Regions from separate parts of the Homo sapiens genome. Here region 2 is linked to region 1. Evidence: promoter capture Hi-C in human tissues and cell types (Jung and others, 2019). All regions are on one chromosome and are shown on one strand. Each heading gives the region's core, a stretch centred on a gene start or on the middle of the fragment in contact. The rest is flanking DNA. Distances are from core to core; before and after follow the strand shown.

The links. Contacts are between HindIII fragments. The study calls those that stand out against the background at their distance.
Region 2: the fragment with the promoter of FOXA1 here is called in contact with the fragment with the promoter of NKX2-8 in region 1 in 1 of the 25 tissues and cell types used here (mesendoderm cells).

Annotation. Positions count from the first base shown.
Region 1 is chr14:36,581,093-36,585,965 of GRCh38, reverse strand. It overlaps NKX2-8 (NK2 homeobox 8), which reads left to right and starts at 3,352. Exons shown (of 2, transcript NM_014360.4): 1 at 3,352-3,733; 2 at 4,502-4,873. The coding sequence starts at 3,577. RefSeq lists enhancers at 3,961-4,771, 4,772-4,873. The HindIII fragment of the contact is 13,278 bases long and covers 337-4,873 here.
Region 2 is chr14:37,593,129-37,598,771 of GRCh38, reverse strand. It overlaps FOXA1 (forkhead box A1), which reads left to right and starts at 3,523. Exons shown (of 2, transcript NM_004496.5): 1 at 3,523-3,871. The coding sequence starts at 3,800. It overlaps TTC6 (tetratricopeptide repeat domain 6), which reads right to left and starts at 3,143. Exons shown (of 33, transcript NM_001310135.5): 1 at 2,764-3,143. RefSeq lists enhancers at 2,015-3,214, 2,728-3,587. The HindIII fragment of the contact is 7,361 bases long and covers 1-4,868 here.

The DNA.
Region 1 (4,873 bases), core at 2,103-4,602:
AAACATTAAAAACTCTTACTGGAATTGAGATATACTACATCCAATTACAAGAAAACAACTACTTAGCTAATTAAATAATAATATTCACATGGTATGTTAAGTTGCAAAGAAGTTCAATTGTCCAGAACACCAAATAATATATGAAAATCTGGAAATAATGTCCAGTTAAATGCTTACTTGTGATTCTAAGAATCTCTTGGGAATTGGAGGCAATTCGTATATATCTCCAATGTGTAAAAAACTTAAGATTAGCTTGACTGTCTTTTCCTATTGACCCAATATCAAAATAATTTTCCCCTCCCATGTCTGTGAATTTATCTGATGTGAAAAGGCAATATAGAAAGTACCTTTCTCTAATTCTGGCTTTCCTGCATTTCTTCAGAAGGCACAGTTTATATTGAACAATTTCTTGGAGTCCCCCGGTTCTAGCTCTCAGAGATAATTCAGCTAAATCCGCGGAGCAGAGCTGAGAGGAAGGTTGGCCTATGGCAGAGGCACTTATGGCAGAGGAGGAGGGAATCCAAGATGAAGCAGGTAAGCTGCAGCCCTTTCTAGAACCAGGAGCTACAGGGTTTCCATGGGACATCTAAAATGCAGACCAAGGCCCAGGAACACTGTTTCCGAAGCCCGTGAACATGAAGCTAGAAGTAATATTTGGAGCGAATCCCAGAGCAAAGTCCTTCCCAGAGCACAAGTGCTAGATGGGGCCTGTATCTCTGCTTTGGAAGCCAAACACTAAGAGTAAAAGCAAATATTTGATGCTGAAGAGCTCTTAAGAGCTGAAGAGCGCCATTTACTTATTTCTACACGTCAGTGTGGGCTTAGGATGTTAAATAGATTAAAAGGCTAAGAGAGGTCAGTCACTCAAGGAAAGACTCTTCTTTTGCTTCTCCTGACTTGGTTCTCTTCCCTAAATTGTTATCCACCCCACCCTACTCCTGTGGAGGATCCTTGGGAAACTCAAAAGATGACACCTCCTCTCCTAGAACATCCTGGAGACGGAGTCAGTCCTGGGGCTAAGAATTCGAGAACCTGAGGGAGGAGGGAGTCTAAATATCCGGCTGGTAAATGCTACAATGAAGATAGGTTTAGAAAAATTCCTGAGATACAGAATCATAAAACTGGTAGGGTCCTTAGAAATTACCAAATCTATTCTCCTACTATCTTCTGTATCAGATTAATTTTAAAAAAAAAAAGGAAGGAAGGAAGCTTAGAGAAATGAGGTGGTTAGAGATAGGTAGGGGCAGAGCGAGGATGCGAACCGATTTCCAGGCCAGAGCTCCTTCTACCTTACACAATCTCATAGTTCAAGACCGAATTTGGGAATCAGTCTTAACACTTGCTTCCCCAGGACGGTCTTTGTCAGTGCCTCAGCTTCTCACTAGGGAGGTGGGCTGGCAGAGATTGCCAGGCCTCGGGCTCTGGCCAGAGATAAGTCCACGAGGCCTGGAGCCAGTCTGCGACCTGCCCACTCTCTAGACGCTGGGGGCTCGGGAGCTGAGGAGCGGTGCGCGGCGGGTTTCCAGACTCCGCTGTCCCCTGCCCACTCCAGGCTCCCGCCCCGGCCCCGTCTGCAGAGAGGACAGCCAAGTCATTTCAGTTTAATCTTATTTAAAAAGACATAACTAATAAATCTATTGCCAGGGCCGCGGAAAGACGGCCAGCAGAGTCGATCGTGCTCCCAATCCCATTGAACCCCATTGAAAACCATGACAACACCGGACAAGCTCCGATTTATCCCGGCGCGTTAAAGCGCATTGTGAGCAGACGTCAATCATGCATTATTCCGGACTGAACAAATGCAAAATCTTGACTGGAACAAATGCTTCCAACAGGTCCGGGGCGTCGAGCTCCATTTCCCCTTTGTCCGCGGCCTAGCAGTTGGCCTGTATTGGGGTTGCCTCCGCCCGACCACCCAGCGCGCGGTGCAGCTCCGGGCACCTCGGGCACGCTTGATAGGGAGGCTGCTGGGGAGGGTGCGCGGGGCTTGACAGGGCCGCCGCCGCCGCATCCGAGCCAGGTTCGAGTTCAGCCCGGGAGGAGCCAGGACTTCTGGTGCAGCCACCCAAGTACAGAGCCCTTCGCTACAATTTAGCAACTAAATATCCAAACTACTAGCTTCAGTAGGAGAGGCCTCTGAGAGGGCGTTCCTCTGTAGATTGAAGCGCGGCCAGAGCTAGGCCATGGCCCAACAAAATGTATCCACGGCGGCCTGTTCCCTGCGCCTCCTACATTGATCATTTTCTAGGGTGGAACTGTGGAAACTAGAAGATCCCAGAGAAACCCATGGCCGGTGGTATTTTCTGCCGGGTAGGCCCTGTCCTAATTCTCCCGATCGGTCCATTCCCGGACCAAGGCGGGCAGCCTCGTCAGGGTCTGCCATGCTGCGAGCGGGGAGCGTAGGCCATGGGCAGGCTCCTGGGCAAAGACCAAAGCCCAGGCAGTGAGAGTGCCGTTGAGGCTATGGGGCCAAGGCGCACAGGCGGCACCAGTTCATCTGGCGACTCCAAGGAGGCCTCAAAGCCCTCACAGGATGCCCTGAGAAGCGCCCCCGCCCAGGGGCTCTAAAGCGGGCCTGGACCCAAATTTGTGGAGCTCGGCCTCCGAGCTCCGAGATCGGCAGCGGCCGGGCGAAGCTGGGCCAAAGAGACAGGCACTGTAGACCTAAGTAGCTTGGCTACAAGCCTCTTCTGTTTTGCCGGCCTGTGGAGACGTGGAGCTGGGGCTCCGAATGTTGTCCCAGCCCTTCCTCAGCACCTCTGAGGCTGTTAGGGGGATGTATGGTGTGATCCGAGGCTCCCAGCGGCCGTTGAAACCCCTGGGCCAATGCTGGCAGGGCCAGGCTAATCTTTACGCCCTCCTGAAACTTGTCATCCTGAATCTTAGAGGGGCCCAACCAAAAAGAGAAAGGGAGCGCGCCAGAGTTTAACGCCGCTTTGTAAATCACTTTCTGGATAATTGCGGGAAACTACCACTCCAGCAAACAAGCTCGAAGAATAAAGCAAACAGGGAATAAATTCCTGGGTGCTAATAAACCCACCCCTGCCACCCCCACCCTTCCCGGCGCTCCCGCGGGGCCTGGCCTCAAGTCAGCCCAGGAGGAGGAGGAGGAAGCTGGGGCTGGGTCAGGCGGGTGGTGGCCACCGCTCGCCACCCAAGATGTTATTCACTGGTAACAATCCCCATTATCTGTCCCCACTTTGGGCTAATCAGACAGAATCGCTAATGCCAAATGCTGCTTCCTGCAGCCTCTGGGAGGTAACTGGGCGCCAAGGGGCGGGGTGCGGGGCGGGGTGCGGGGCGGGGCGGGGGCGGAGGTGGCACCTTCCGGGCTCGCCCCGGCTCTGGTCCAGTGCTCATTCAGGTACTTAACACCCTGGAGACCCGGACCTCGGCTTTCAAAGCGGCCTGGGTGGGAAGAGCTGTTTATATAAACAGAGATTCCGCTGTAAATGCGCTAATATCCCGGCTGCCAGCGCATGGCGAGCGCCTCCCACGCCCATCCGTAGGAGCGGCGTCCCGGCCGCCCCTCCGTTCCCAGCCTGCCCTGCCCCCGCCTCCTTCCCCTCCTCGGCCATGGCCACCTCTGGACGCCTGAGCTTCACCGTGCGCAGCCTTCTAGATTTACCCGAGCAGGACGCGCAACACCTGCCGAGGCGGGAGCCAGAACCACGCGCCCCCCAGCCCGACCCCTGCGCCGCCTGGCTGGATTCGGAGCGCGGCCACTACCCTTGTAAGTGCGTGGTGGATTGCGGTGCGGGGTGGGAGGTAGGAGGCGTGGGGCAGCAGAATCAAGGGCCCAGCCCACGAGGGGCCGGAAAGCCGAAATCCCAGCCCAGAGTCTAGATTTCCTCAGTCTTGGAAACGGGAGCCCTGTCCTCGAACCCCTAACGCATTCATCCCGGTCGGCACATCCTAAGAGCAGATCCCTGCCTGGCACTGGTGCTCCGAGATTTGGGGTTTCTGTGTCTGACGATTTCTAGAGGTCGGAATAATTGAAATTTAAAACGCGCCGCCACCTGCCGCCCCCACCCCACCCCCCGCCCCCTCTCCATGCCTGAAAACACGGCCACGATCTCCAGGCCTCCGTCTGGGATGGCCAGTGTTGGCGAGTTTACCCCCACCCCGTTCCCACTCAGGGCTCCGCAAACCTCGGCACACTGCAGTGCAGTCGACCTGGAGGAGGCCGGCGCTGGTGACCCAGCTTGTGATAAACTGGTCGGCCAGCGCAACTACCGGTGCGGACATGTTAAGAGGGCCCCGGGGTGGGTTTTTTCGGGGCACGATCTCAGGCCCGCTGATGACCGCTGTGGTATGAATGAGGTCACCGCATTCGGAGAGGTGGATGTCCAGATGTGGACTCAGGAAATGGCCTCATCCCGAAAGTCTCGGGCTAGTGGGCGTGCCCTCTGGCCAGTGCCTCCACGCCCGCGCCAGAAGGGCAGCAGGCCCTCGTAGGGTCCGGCGTCTCACCCACCCGTGTCTCCTTTGCTGTCCCTAGCCTCGGACGAGAGCAGCCTGGAGACCAGCCCGCCAGACTCGTCGCAGCGGCCGTCCGCTAGGCCCGCGTCTCCGGGCTCGGACGCCGAGAAAAGGAAGAAGCGGCGGGTGCTATTCTCCAAGGCGCAGACGCTGGAGTTGGAGCGGCGCTTCCGGCAGCAGCGGTACCTGTCTGCGCCCGAGCGCGAGCAGCTGGCGAGCCTGCTTCGCCTCACGCCCACGCAGGTCAAGATCTGGTTCCAGAATCATCGCTACAAGCTGAAGCGCGCTCGCGCTCCAGGGGCGGCGGAGTCGCCTGACCTGGCAGCATCCGCCGAGCTGCACGCCGCGCCCGGCCTGCTGCGTCGCGTGGTGGTGCCGGTGCTTGTTCGCG
Region 2 (5,643 bases), core at 2,274-4,773, 1.0 Mb before region 1:
AGAGCCCCGCCGGCCCAGGCCCTGCTGTCTGCCAACCCTGCGGTCCTGCTAAATAGGAAGGACCCTGTCGCCGCGAGAGGCCGCCGTCTGGGCCCGGGGCCCGAGGCCCGAGGCCGCGGCCTCTCCTTCCACCTTTCGCCGTCGTCTCCCTCTGCTTCTACCTGCCTGGTGAATATCTGAGGAAGGGGCTCCCAGCCAGATCCTGCTGGGAAGTGTAAGCTGAGGCAGCCAAGCGTGGTCAAAGGACCGAGTGCCGCTCAGGTACTGCGGGACTGCGCCGGGAGCAGGCCCCACGGGTGTAGCAAGGGCAGCTTCCGGGAAGGGCGGAGCCGCTTCCTCCGCTGGCGGCTACCCGGAGTACCCGCGCACCCTACAGTCCTCACTGCCGCGGATCCCCCACTTGAGGAGCCCGCCCTCCCCGCGACCTGGACCGCCCCAAGCTGTCGCAGACCCGTCTTAAACACAGGCAAGTTTAACCCGGGACACCGCAGGAGCCGCCACGTGCCTGCCCTCGCGGGTACCCTGCCCCGAGTCCACCCATCCTCCCCACAGCTGAAGACAGGCCTGGTTTCCTCCAACGAGCAGCACAATCCTTGCAAAGCACAGTTTCCAATGGTGTAGGTGCCTATTTGGGAAAAGAGGTTGGAAAAGAGCAGGCTGCAGCCGCTGGACCTGGCTACCGACTGGCCAGCAACTCCCAGACAGCAGCATTACTTTATGTATGTATGTATGCATTTCCAAGTCAAAGACCCAACACGACCCTGCTGATTCGCTTTTAAACCTCAGGGAAAGTGACTGGCTGGCATCTGGGTACACTAGAACCTCACCTCCTAAATTTGTTAGGTATCTTGCAATGCGGCCACTGAGATGGAGAGAGGCTGGGAGCTGGACGAACGGCCATCTCTCCTTCCATCTTGGCCTCGGCTCTAAGAACCTAAATCCCTGACTGGGATGCGTGCGGAGTTCAATCCAGTATCGCCTGGCGGTGCTCCCCGGAGGCGCCTGCGGGAAAATTCAGCTTTCCCTCTCCACGACAGGAGGCGCTGTTTTCGTGGAAATCCCCCGGCTGCGAACCTGGGATCCCTGACCTGGATCAAGTCTCCGAAGCTGGCAGAGTCCATTCTGCATCACCGGTCTTGGGCTTTGAAGAAGCCTAGGAGAAATTCCGCTTCGGCCATCACGCTATGAAAAGTGGATTTTTTTTTCTTAAGTCAATTTTTTTTTTTTGAAAATATGAGACTTAGTAGGTTTGGGAAGTGGGCTAAAAGAACATTTGATATTGTAATTGACCCCCCCTTTAAGGTGACAGTGTTTTTCCCCTACTTAAAGCGCCAACTTTTTTGTGCACTATAAAAGCTATTACTATCCATAAATTGTTACTCTCGGTAGAAAATAACCTAGTCTTGCTCGGTGTTATTGAAGAGCCAAGAGGGTATTGGAGAATCACCTCCAGAAGGAACAAGGAAGCTCATTAGCACTGAAAGTCCCCCGGATCAGGCCCAGGAAGCTAAGCATCCGTATACTTTACAAATGGAACTAAAGTCAGCTACTAATGGGAACTTTGCACAAAAGAATTAGTTTCTGACACACAATTCGCAGATACATTTACACAAACTGATGGGACAACTTGCAGTCACAGGAGCAGGCTGCATTAGGGAGGGTTCCTGCCCTACTGAGTTCCAGGTGGATTTAATTTCACTCATTCCTTTCCTTATGATGTGACGTTTCTACCCCCCCACCCTTTTTGTAAAAAAAAAAAAAAAAAATGTAATCCAATGCTTTTATCTTTTTTTATTTCCTTAACTGCACATCTTCACCCTCTCTGCTCCCCTGCTGACTTAAGAGATTTGTTTGGTTCAGGGATTTAAAGTGATTCTCTTGCCAGATTTCAAGTAAAAGAGATTTAAAAGAACAAAGCACAGGGAAAAAGGTATCTGTTTGGAAGACAAGTTAAAACACATTTCTTAAAATGAGATTAATAACATTTTAAAAACTTTGCAAAACAAGAAGATTTTGCGGATTCTTAATTACTTTAGATTTTATTTTATTGTTACTTAAGGAAACCTAGTGGTTCTACAGGCAGTACAACAAACACATGGTCACAGACACTCAGAAACACACACAGTCACACATGCTCAGAAATATACAAACGGTCACACACTCAAAACACACGCACCATCTCCCAATCTATCACCAACTAATTGCCTATCACCCGGTCACTTCAGTTGTTCTCTCTCCCAGGACAAGTGGGCAACCACCACCCAGGGCCTCATGAGAGTAAAGAGACTTTGCGTTGGGAAGACTCTCCCACCGACGTCCAGGACCGATTAGGAACCAAGCGAGCCCCTGAGATCTCAGCCCGGACCCTCCGGGTCACAGACAGGACCAAGCGCCGCTGCGGGCAGTCTCGGGCTTCTGCCTGGCATCTCTTTCGCAGTGCAGATGCGTTCCCGCGCCCAGGCCCTTGCTCTCCCAGCTAACGCGCGTGTTATGGGAGATGTCCCCTCCCCCTGACCTTTTCCTATCAGAAACCAGACGGTCGTCTCCAGCTCACTCCCTGAAGCGGCTGAAGGGGGGCGGGAGGAGGAGCCCGGCAGGGGGAGGACGGCCCGACTTGGGTCCGCCTGCCCTATCACACAGACATCTGCTCTCAGTTTCTTCCTCTTTGTGGTCGCTACAGATGACAAGGGGAGAGGAGCGGACCGAGGCGGAACAAAAAAAAAAAGTTATGTCATAAAGATATAAACCGGTGCTGTGACTCACCTGCTCTTAGCCGCAGGTACGAGTTTCGTGGCAGCGCCTCCGCTCTGCTAGCCCGGGGCCCGGGTCGGCCTAACGTCACTTGGCTCGGCTGACTCAGATGACCCGGTTTCTAGTGACGAAGCAAAAGTGGGGCTTTTTCCCTTTTCTAGTCTGAAGCTCTCAGGAGGAAAGAAAAAAAAAAGTCTGTATTCTCCAGTCTCCCGGGGTTGAACTTTGGGTCAGGAATCAGGAGGGAGGAAGCAAAGAGCAGGAGGGGCGCGAGACTGGGCCGCAGCCCGCGCTCGGAAGGTGGCGTGTACCTCTGGGGAGGGACCCCGGGGTCAGTTATCCCACAAGGTCTCTAAGCCCAGTCTCCGACGCCACCGCCCCCGGCCTTCTCCGGCTGCGAGGTTCCGATCCAGAGCCCTAGCCCGCCCGCCCGCCTGGCCCCGCCTATTTTTTCTTTTTCCAAAGGGGGTTACACCCCCTCCCTCCCCATTTCCCTCTTTCCCTAGCCTCCGGGCCTAAACCAATTACACTGCTTTGCAAACAAAGTGAGGGCCCCGCTTGGGGGAGGGGTCGCGGGGGAGGGGTCGCGCGCAGCGGTGAAGCGGCGGGGCGGGAGGCGCGGCGGCCGGACTGGCGGGCGGCCGCCTTGCAGGTGCACCTCGGGCTTTGTAGGTGCGAGCGTCTTTGTGCGGCGGACAAATGGGGAGAGGACGAGGAGGTGGGCACTCAAGCGACGTAAGATCCACATCAGCTCAACTGCACTTGCCTCGCAGAGGCAGCCCGCTCACTTCCCGCGGAGGCGCTCCCCGGCGCCGCGCTCCGCGGCAGCCGCCTGCCCCCGGCGCTGCCCCCGCCCGCCGCGCCGCCGCCGCCGCCGCGCACGCCGCGCCCCGCAGCTCTGGGCTTCCTCTTCGCCCGGGTGGCGTTGGGCCCGCGCGGGCGCTCGGGTGACTGCAGCTGCTCAGCTCCCCTCCCCCGCCCCGCGCCGCGCGGCCGCCCGTCGCTTCGCACAGGGCTGGATGGTTGTATTGGGCAGGGTGGCTCCAGGATGTTAGGAACTGTGAAGATGGAAGGGCATGAAACCAGCGACTGGAACAGCTACTACGCAGACACGCAGGAGGTGAGAGGCAAGGCGAGGCGGGCGGCCGGTGGGGCGCCGCTGGAGCCCGTGCCGGGGGAGGCCGGGGAGCGGTGGGCGCCAGGCAAGGCAGGCAGGCGGGCCGGGGGCGCCTTCTCGGTGCCACCGCTGCCCGCCCGCCGGTGTGGCCCCGGCCGGGCCTTGGCCGGGCCTGGAAGCGGGACCTGCTGCCCTGCTCTGTCCCGACTCTCGCAGCCGGAGAGGGAGTTTTAGGAAACTCCGGGCTTTGAAAACAGCGGCTCTAGGAAGCGCTTGCCTCTTCCCAGCAGCGAGCGGGAGCAGGAGCCGGGCCCGGGGTGCAGCGGGCGGGCGAGCGCCGGTGCGAGTTGGAAGCAACTCTGAGAAAGCCGGAGCATACCCACAAGGCGACCTCTTCGTCCCACCGTTTAATTCGCAGACGTCTTCTGATTAAAGCGCTCTGCCGCCAAGTTGGGTGTCTCAATAATGAAACGATTTCTAAATTTTGTAAAACTTGTTCTTCAAAAGCCCTATTTGGGGAGAAGTGTGCTCCTTCTCTAAAACCGCTGGGTGGCGCTAGTGCGACCAAAATCTTCTTCACAACTCTGGGCCGAGAACCTGTTTCTCTTCATTGTCCCCTTGGTGGCACGTTCATGGGGGTTATTTTTACAATGTGCACAAAAGGATTACAGGGAAAACCAGTTACAGGGAGGACTACCACCTATTAAAAGTATTTTTCTGGAAACAGCTGGCGATTACCCTCCAAAAGTTTAATTACCATTATTGAAAACGCGTATTGGAACTGCCTTGGATAATCTTGGGAAGAGGGAAAGAAAATAAAGCCCCAAGGTAAAAAATACTTTTAAGACGTGGACAGAAAAATATAGGATCACGTAATATTTTGATGGTAACTGACTTATTTAGATTTATGTATTCACAAGTTTACCTCTGAGTTTATTTGCATACCATAGTTTACTGGGTGTTCCTATTTAAATCTATTTGTTCTCATATTTTCAAATTGAGTCATACTTGCTGATTAAAATAAACTTAAGGACATCATTATTCCTTATTAAATTACCAGAGGAGTGCTTTTTAATATGCCTAGGTTTTGTATGTTTAAAATACTGTACCTAATGCATTCCCACATCGCTATTGATAAGGATTTTCGCTTGTTGATGATTTTAAAAGGAGCTCAGAGGTCTTCCAGAGATTTAATTCTGACGCAGTCATCTCGACCCCACCATTCAATTAAGACCCCTAGCGAAAGTACTTTCTTACATGTTAAAGCTGAGAATTAGGAAATACAATAGCATTAAGAGAAAATAAGTAGAATTTGATTTTCGAATTTTAAATTATTCAAGACTACTCACGGAATCTCAAAGCCAGGCGTTGAAATCATCGGCAGCAACATCAGCATGTGAAAAAAAAAAAAGATTTATTTTGACAAACTGTGTCACCAAATTTTTCAAACAGGGGACTGTAAAGTGGTGACAAAATTAATGCGAGTTTCTAAATAGCTTGCAAAGGTGTACATGTAAAGTCATGTTAAAATAAAATGCATATAGCACTTTGAGATTATTATAGCACCCCCTCCCAGCCCTTTCTGTTATGGATCTACTTTTAGTTTTATTTTTCCAAAACTTATTTAACTCTGAGTTTGCTTCCCTTTTAACATTACAGTTGCTACAAGCAGGTAGAAAACACTACTTCTAAATACAATAAACAACAAAAAGTCACCATAGGCAAAAACCCCTAGGACAATAAAGCCACTTGTTGGGAAACAGATGATTCAGGGG